2 separate regions of the Homo sapiens genome follow, and region 1 is linked to region 2. Evidence: promoter capture Hi-C in 16 types of primary human blood cells and fetal thymus (Javierre and others, 2016). All regions are on one chromosome and are shown on one strand. Each heading gives the region's core, a stretch centred on a gene start or on the middle of the fragment in contact. The rest is flanking DNA. Distances are from core to core; before and after follow the strand shown.

Region 1 (3,833 bases), core at 1,214-3,713, 610 kb before region 2:
TTGGTAGAGCAGTTTCATCGCTGCTTTCTCTGAAACATTGTGAACCTGTCTCTTTCTTTTCACACATGCAGCCACATACCCATTTCAGGACACCATCATCTGCCAGTTTTCCAGTCACAGTAGCCTCTCATCATCTCTTCATATAGTTGCATTTCCAAAATGTGGATTTCTCAATTTACTCTCTTTCTCAAATTTGTCAAGATTTTTTTGTTGTTGTCTTCAAGATTCAGTCAATATTCCTTGGCATGATATTTAAGGTCCTCAGTGATCTGGACTTAAGCTATTTTCCTGAACCCCTCCAGCTAATAACTGCCCGTAAACTTTACATTGTGGATATTTTGCTGTATTACAAGGTCTCCAATTTGACATACGTTTCTACAGTTCTGCCTTCAATTGTAATCTCAGAGCCTAGAATGTTTTTTTCCTATTCCCTATCAAATTTATTCAAGGTGCATCTAAAATAAATCCCTTTTCCTAATCTCCTATTATTTTTCCTCTTTAGAATTCCATAGCATATTTCTTGGACAGCTGTGTAGCCTTTAAAAAATTGTGGTAAAATATATATAGCATTGGCCGGGTGTGGTGGCTCACACATGTAATCCCAGCACTTTGGGAGGCCGAGGCGGGCAGATCACCTGAGGTCAGGAGTTTAAGACCAGACTGACCAACATGGTGAAACCCCGTGTCTACTAAAAATACAAAAACTAGCCAGGCATGGTGGCACGTGCCTGTAGTCCCAGCTACTGGGGAGGCTGAGGCAGGAGAATTGCTTGAACCCAGGAGGCGGAGGCTGCAGTGAACCGAGATCATGCCACTGCACTGCAGCCTAGGCAACAGAGCGAGACTCTGACTCTGTCTCAAAAAAAAAAGTGTGTGTGTGTATATATATATATATATATATACGTATATATATATATGTGTGTATATATATGTGTGTATATATATACACACACACATACATACACACACACATTAATGCTATAAATATATATAGCATTAATTTGCCATTCTAATTATTTTCAAATTAGAAGTGCATTCATGATGTTGTGTGACCGTCTCCAAAACTTCATCTTGCAAAACTGAAACTCTGTACTCATTAAACATGAACTTCCCATTCTTCTCTTTCCCTGGCCCCTGGAAACTACCAATCTACTTTCTATCTCTGTAAGCTTAACTACTCTGGGCACCTTATATAAGTGAAATCATACAATATTTGCCATTTCATGACTGGCTTTTTTTACTTAGCATAATGTCTTCAAAGTTCATCCTTGTAGTAGTCATGTGTCAACATTTTATTTTTTTGATTTCCATTTGTTTAAAGCTGAATAATACATCATTTTATATAAATACCTCACTGTTTTTCATTGATGAACATTTGGGTTGCTTCCTTCTTTCAGCTATTGTGAATAATACTGTTATATTATTATTGTCACAGGTGTACCAATATCTATTCAAGTGCCTGCTTTCACTTCTTTTAGTTATATACTTGGAAGTGGAATTCTGGGTTGTATGGTCATTATGTTAATTTATTGAAGAATTGCTATACCATTTTCCACAGCAGCTGCCCCACTTAACTTTCCTACTACCAATGCACAAGGGTTTCAGTTTTTCCACATCCTTACCAACACTCACTATTCGGTTTGTTTGGGTAACAGCCATCTTAATGGTTTTAAAGCAATATCTCATCGTGGGTTTGATTTGCATTTTCTTAATGACTAATGATGTTGAATATTGTCTTTGTGTGTTTGCTGGCCATTTGTATATTCTCTTTGGAAAAATGCCTATTCAAATGCTTTGCCCATTTTTGAATCAAGTTGTTTTTTGTCTTTGTGTTGTAGAAGCTCTTTATTTGTATCCCAGATATCAATCCCTTATAAGACATATGGTTTGCAAATACTTTTCTTGTGTCTGTTGGCTTTTCACTCTGTTGATATTGTCTGTGAGGCACAAAAGTTTTTAATTTTGACAAAGTCCCATTTATCAATCTCGAAGAAATAATTGCTGAATCTATTGTCATAAAGTTTTTCCCCATTTTCTTGTAAAAGTTTTATAGTTTTAACTGTTATGTTTGGGTATTTGAAACATTTTTAGTTATTCTTTATTTATGGTGTAAGGTAATGAAGGGTCTACCTTTATTCTTTTACATGTGGATATCCAGTTTTCCCAGCACCATTTGTTGAAAAGGCTATTCTTTCCCTATTTAATGGTGTTAACCTTGTTGGAAATCATTTGACCATATATGTGAGGACTTATTTCTGGGCTCTCTACTATTCTGTTGGTCTATATACCTGTTTGTATGCCAGTGCCGCATGATTTTGATTATTGTGGCTTTGCAATAAGTTTTGGAAACAAGTCAGTAAGTATGAGACTTCCAGCTTTGTTCCTTTTCAAGATTGTTTTGACTATTCAGAATCCCTTGAGATTCCATAAGAATTTTAGAATGGAATTTTCTATTTGTGCAGAAAACATCACTGGGATTTTGATAAGATACATTTATTTTTATATTTATAGTGTTAATCACACATCTCTGCCCTTTATTAAAATGGAATTTCTGAACGTTAGTGATTTTCAGTCAATTCTTTTTTCCTCTAGCGTGTACAGTAAGTGTTCATAAACACTTAAAAATAATTTAGTTATCAGCCTCTGGGAAAATAGCTCATTATTTTAAATAATTAACTCAGAGCTTTTCGTCCTTGAGGTCCTAGCTCAAGAAAGCCAGCCTGGACTTTATAGACCAAATTAGCGCGCGCCCCCCCGCCCCTTTCTGTACTCCTTCATGGCAATTGTGCGTTTGTAATTGCATGCTTCTGTGAATATTTGTTCCTCCACTGCGCAGTGTGCTTCATGAGGGCAGTGTCTGTATCATTTTGCCGTACACCTGTTATGGTGGTTGGCACGTAGTAGATGCTCAAAAAATATTAATTGCCGAACCGTCTCGTAATTTGGACCCTTCCGGTTGAGTCTTTCTTTTCATAGCTAATTTCCCCTTTAAGAATATATACTAATTAAAATCAATTGATGTCCTTGACATACCCCCTGGGATTACAGAGGACAGACTTATTTGTCATGTAGACCTGAGCTTTTTAGAGTAAGTATGCTTTAAAAGTATAAAAAATGGTAACATTTTAATGTAATAAGGTAGTTGTCTTGAGTAAATATCTCTACTAATATTTGTTTTTATTTTCATGTGATTATGAAAAACTCTGACATGTGCATTTTATATTTTAGAACCAACCAGTTTTGCTTTTTGGACGACCTCAGGGAGATGGTGAAATTCGAATAACCACTCTAGACAAGCATACCAAACAAGAAAGGTAAGAAAAGAAGAATACTATTTTCAAAATAAGTAATTAGTGTCAGAAAACTGAGAAAACCTTAAAGACAATTTTTCCAGTGTGAAGTAGGGGGAAAAAAGGAAGAAATACAAGGAGACAGACCAACCCATGATTTCTAAATTTTTTAAATCTAGATTATCTTAGGTATTCCCACCTGGGTTCTGGTATCTATTAGTTTGTCTAAGTTATTAAGAAGGAAGTAACAAGTATAGATGATCAGCTAGGATACATTAAAATGAGAAGAGCGATAAAGTAAGAACAGATAACTACCATAAAAACATAATTGAATTTTTGGAATATATTTTTAAATAACCAAAAATAATAGAAAAATGCCCTAAGAAAGAAGATTAAGTGAGAATCACGTAGTAATATTTTCTTGAGGGAAATTTGCAGATGTAGTTCTTGAAGATTAGTAAGCTTGGCCCGGAGTCCTTAATTATGTATATATGTAATCATCAAACAGAGGTTTTTGTGGTTGACAATGATTGTTTTCTGGAA
Region 2 (3,950 bases), core at 994-3,493:
TGAAAACTGACAAAACAAAAATATTAACAGGAAACCAGCTTTATGTTCAAATAAACTGTTTCCATGCAAAAGTTTTAAGATTATCCGTCTTAAATTCCACAGTAAGGAAATACCACCAAATTAGTAGTGCAGTATATAGAATCCTGAATGCCTTCATGGTGGTCTTCAGTGGGTGAAATATATCTCATTTCACGGCATCCAGAAAAGAAAATATATCCCTGGAACAACATTACATGTGAAATACTTGATGCACATTTTTCCTTGCATGTTGATCCACATGCAGAGATCCAAATTTTATCTTAATGAAAAATCGAAAGTTGCTTATCTTCAAAAAGAATCTTGGACAGTTACTGAGCTGCTTTTCCTTTGCCAAAGAGAAAGGGAGGCGGGTAAGGCATTCAAAGTGACACAGTTCAAAATACTTAATGAAATGTGGAATTGCTAATTCCCTCACTAGAGATCCTCCTCAAGGGACAAACAAAACAGAAAAGCCTCCCCTGAAAAAAAAAAAAATTATTTTTTGGAAAACTTTCCAACAAGCTTAACTACTAAGCATATCTGAATAAGTGATTTTAATGGAAGATCTTCCTGGGTTTTTTTTTTTTTCATTTCTGTAAGATAAAACAACTTTTAGTATTTTCAGTCATAAAACAGGGCCTTATTTCTAGAGCAATTCTACTGCCAGATTCACCATATGTTTAGTGGAGTTCTGAATCTTACTCAGAATTTTCCATTCCAAAGATTGACAATTTGTTATGAGGAGTGGCTCCATTATTCCCTGTATAAAGAGAAGAATGGGTGAGAGAGGAGGACCGTCTACTCACTGGAAATCTGTACCTGATGCAACTATAGGAGCTCAACCTGCGACTTTTCCAAGTAAAGTTGCTTTAAAATCCCCGCTAGGAATTTTCTTCCCTTGCCCTGTAAGATGACAGCCTACTCTTAAGTGGATTTCTGAAGGAAAAAAAAAAAAAGTCCCCGGGTGAGGGTACTAAAATTAACAGCAGAGGGCGCAGTTTCTTTTTATATCTAAGTTTTTCCTTGTATGAATCACTTAATTGGTTATTTTAGGCCCAATAATATTCAGTATTATTTGTATTATATATAGATATCCACAGATCCATACAGGAGTGCAATTCAGTGTCCCTAGCCGAATCCATCAACCGATTAATATGATGCCAGTAAAGAATATGAGAGAATATTCCAAACAGCATCCCTACACCAAGTCTTCCTCTTTCAATTTCCCTTTCTCCCCAGCTGCACAACATGGGATAGTAATGTTTTAATCTAGCACCAATAAAGGCGATTAAAAGAAGGGACTTCAAAAGCTCTCGATGTGGCCACCAGATCCCCAAGGCCGGCAATAGGGCAAGTGTTTTTTTGTTTTTTTTGTTTGCTTTTCCCCAAACAAATATAATTGGCGAAAGAAAGAAAAAATAACGACAAGCCGCCTGAGCGATGTGTGTGGCCAGGTGTGCGTGAGAGAGGGAGAGCGCGGGGCCCCTGTCAGTCGGCGGATGGAGGCTCAGACCCCACGCCTGGGCTCCGGACACAACAAGAGGACGCATCACCGGCCCGGGGCGCACCCCCGGGAAGACTTGTGTGTGGGTGTGAGCGTGTGCCGCTGTGTGTGCGCGTAGGGCTCCGCGCGCTGCCTCCTCGGGGCGCTTTACAAAGTTCCTCGCCCACCCGGAGCCTTCCCTCCCGCCTGTGCATCGCAGCGGGTGGGGCGGGGGGCGGCGGGGGGTGGGGAAACCCGGGGGAGAGGGGCACGGGCGAGAGGCTCGGGTCGCAGTAGGAGAGGCGAGCCGCAGGCACTTACCGTGTGGCTCGTTTGCCCTTGCGCCGGGCGGGAGCCGAGCCGACGGCGCGGGGCGGCGGCCCTGCGCAGCCAGCCTGGTCCGCCTCGGGCGGCGGCCGCAGCAGCGGAGCCCGCGGGCGGCGTACGGGCGGAGGGCGGCAGCTCCCGCGGAGCCTCCTCCCCAGGCGGGAGCGGGCGGAGCGGGAGGGGTGGGCGTGAGGACCCGAGCCGCCGCCACCGCCGCAGCCCGGGGATTCCGATCGCGCCCGGCCGCCGGCGGGAGAGGACCCCGAGGACCGAGAACCCAGCGCCGGCCCGCCACTCCCCGCCGCTTAATTACCTTCGCCTCCGCCCCCGGGGGGAGCCTCCTGCAAGTCGCCCCCTCTCGGAGCCCGCACCCAGAGGGGGAATTCCTTCCCGTTGACGTCCTCTTCCGAAATGCAAAAGATCAGTGACTTTGACAGGTAGATGAGGGGGAGGGAGTAAGGGTGGGCGGAGAGGAAGAGAGGATGAGAAAGGTGCCTCTCCCTCCAAAAATATAGTGATATTAATAATGAGATCTCAGCCTTCGGAGGTCGTGCCAGCCCAGTCCCCTGCTCGCCGGCTCTCCTCCGCGCCTCCTCGCTCCGCTGCCTCTGACACTTCTCGCCTTAAACTTTTACTGAGGGATATTTTTTCTTTTTTCTATTTCTATTTCTTTTTTTTTTCCTCTTTTTTTTTTTTTCAAGCCGCAGGACGATTTTCTGGTTCCCGGGGATCAGAACCAGCGGCCAGGCGGTTCTATGCCGCTTGGCACCGCTTTCATTTTATTTCAGATGAAGACGTTGAGCTTAGTCAGAAGGGGCATAAATCAGGACAATTAGCATTGGCGCCAAGAAGATCCTCTAATACCAATTTCGCCCGGGTTTCCTTCGCGCATTCCTCCACTCAAGTCAGAAATGTCACTGCACATAGCACTGATGGCAGTGAGACGCGACGCACCCAAAGTCCGTTTGATGAAATATACATGGCCCACGACGCTTCTGGATTGCGGCTCCCGGACTCCCCGCCCCCACCAGCGGCTCCCGGCCGGGACCCTGCTCCGAGCGGGCAGCGAGCTCCTGGCAAACTTAGGGGCCAGTGCCAATTAAAGAGTGAGCGCGAGAGCCGGAAAGAGGAGCGGCAAAGAAGCAAGCCCGGGGAAGCCGCAGCCCTCGGAGGGGTGGCATGTACGTTTCACTTAAAAAGCAGATCTTCTTCTGCAACTGCCAGCAAGTGGAAGGATAGCAAACCTTATACTACCTCGAGACCTGTGCGCTCCGAGCGGTCCTAACTCCGTCCCGCTCGCTGTTGCTGTTGCTGGTGCTGCTCCGGCTGCAGCTGCTGCCGCTCCACGACCTCGGGGCGCTGAGGCAACAGGGCCCCCTCCCTCTACTCCCCATCCCCCCCGGCTCCTCCACAGAAGCGCCGTTTCCAGTAACTCCTCGTGTACCTCCCACTTCTGCCGCCGTCCATCCCACCCCTCTCTCTTCTGTCCCCTCCCCAAACCGTTCCCAAGCACACCCTTCGCCGCTGGAAGTGATCACAATGTTGTTTTTCAACAAGCACTTCCTTTGCCCGGAGGCCCCTACAGCCCTAGACTGGAAACTCCTCCTTTAGAAATTCATTCCCCTTTAAAAAGTTGAAGTTCAAGGGAGAGCTGCGCATTTCAGGCTTCCTTGCCTTTTCTAAGAGAAAGACAAATGCTCCGATGCTCCAGGCTTCATTCCCCACCAAGGCGGGCTCAGACTCACCTGGGATCACTCTTAGCTACACATTAACGTCAAACAGAAACAAATCCGAATTTAGATAAGATAGGGAGACTTCCATTAGAAAGAAAGACTATTGCAACAGGGAAAACGCTCTGATCTCAGAAATCTGCAAACCTCTCAAAACCAAACAGAAATCGGCCTTTTTTTTCTATATATATAAGGGGGAGCAAGCAATAGGCAAAGCCAAGTGGATGGGGGAAACAACTCACTTCAAGACCCTCTTGGTTGAACAAGAAATGTGTCTCTGTGGTCCAAGAATTTGGAAGATAAGCTAACAATGGTGAATGTTTCACATTTTAGTTCTTGCTCAGATTTGGGGGGCAAGCTAAATTCCAGGGACCTGCTGGAGAGAAGCCTGA

Evidence for each region. The method cuts DNA at HindIII sites, captures the fragments that hold promoters and counts their contacts. A CHiCAGO score of 5 or more calls a contact.
Region 1: a contact is called between a fragment that was not itself captured here and the fragment with the promoter of NTNG1 in region 2, in 1 of 17 cell types (fetal thymus). The highest score is 11.5, in fetal thymus.

Annotation. Positions count from the first base shown.
Region 1 is chr1:107,750,598-107,754,430 of GRCh38, reverse strand. VAV3 (vav guanine nucleotide exchange factor 3) reads left to right here. Exons shown (of 27, transcript NM_006113.5): 13 at 3,229-3,314. Among named protein-coding and RNA genes, the nearest start is that of MIR7852, 140 kb to the left of the region's middle. The HindIII fragment of the contact is 2,583 bases long and covers 1,172-3,754 here.
Region 2 is chr1:107,139,332-107,143,281 of GRCh38, reverse strand. NTNG1 (netrin G1) reads right to left here and starts at 2,243. Exons shown (of 8, transcript NM_001113226.3): 1 at 2,142-2,243. RefSeq lists silencers at 1,549-1,828, 1,849-2,138 and an enhancer at 2,072-2,603. The HindIII fragment of the contact is 6,022 bases long and covers 543-3,950 here.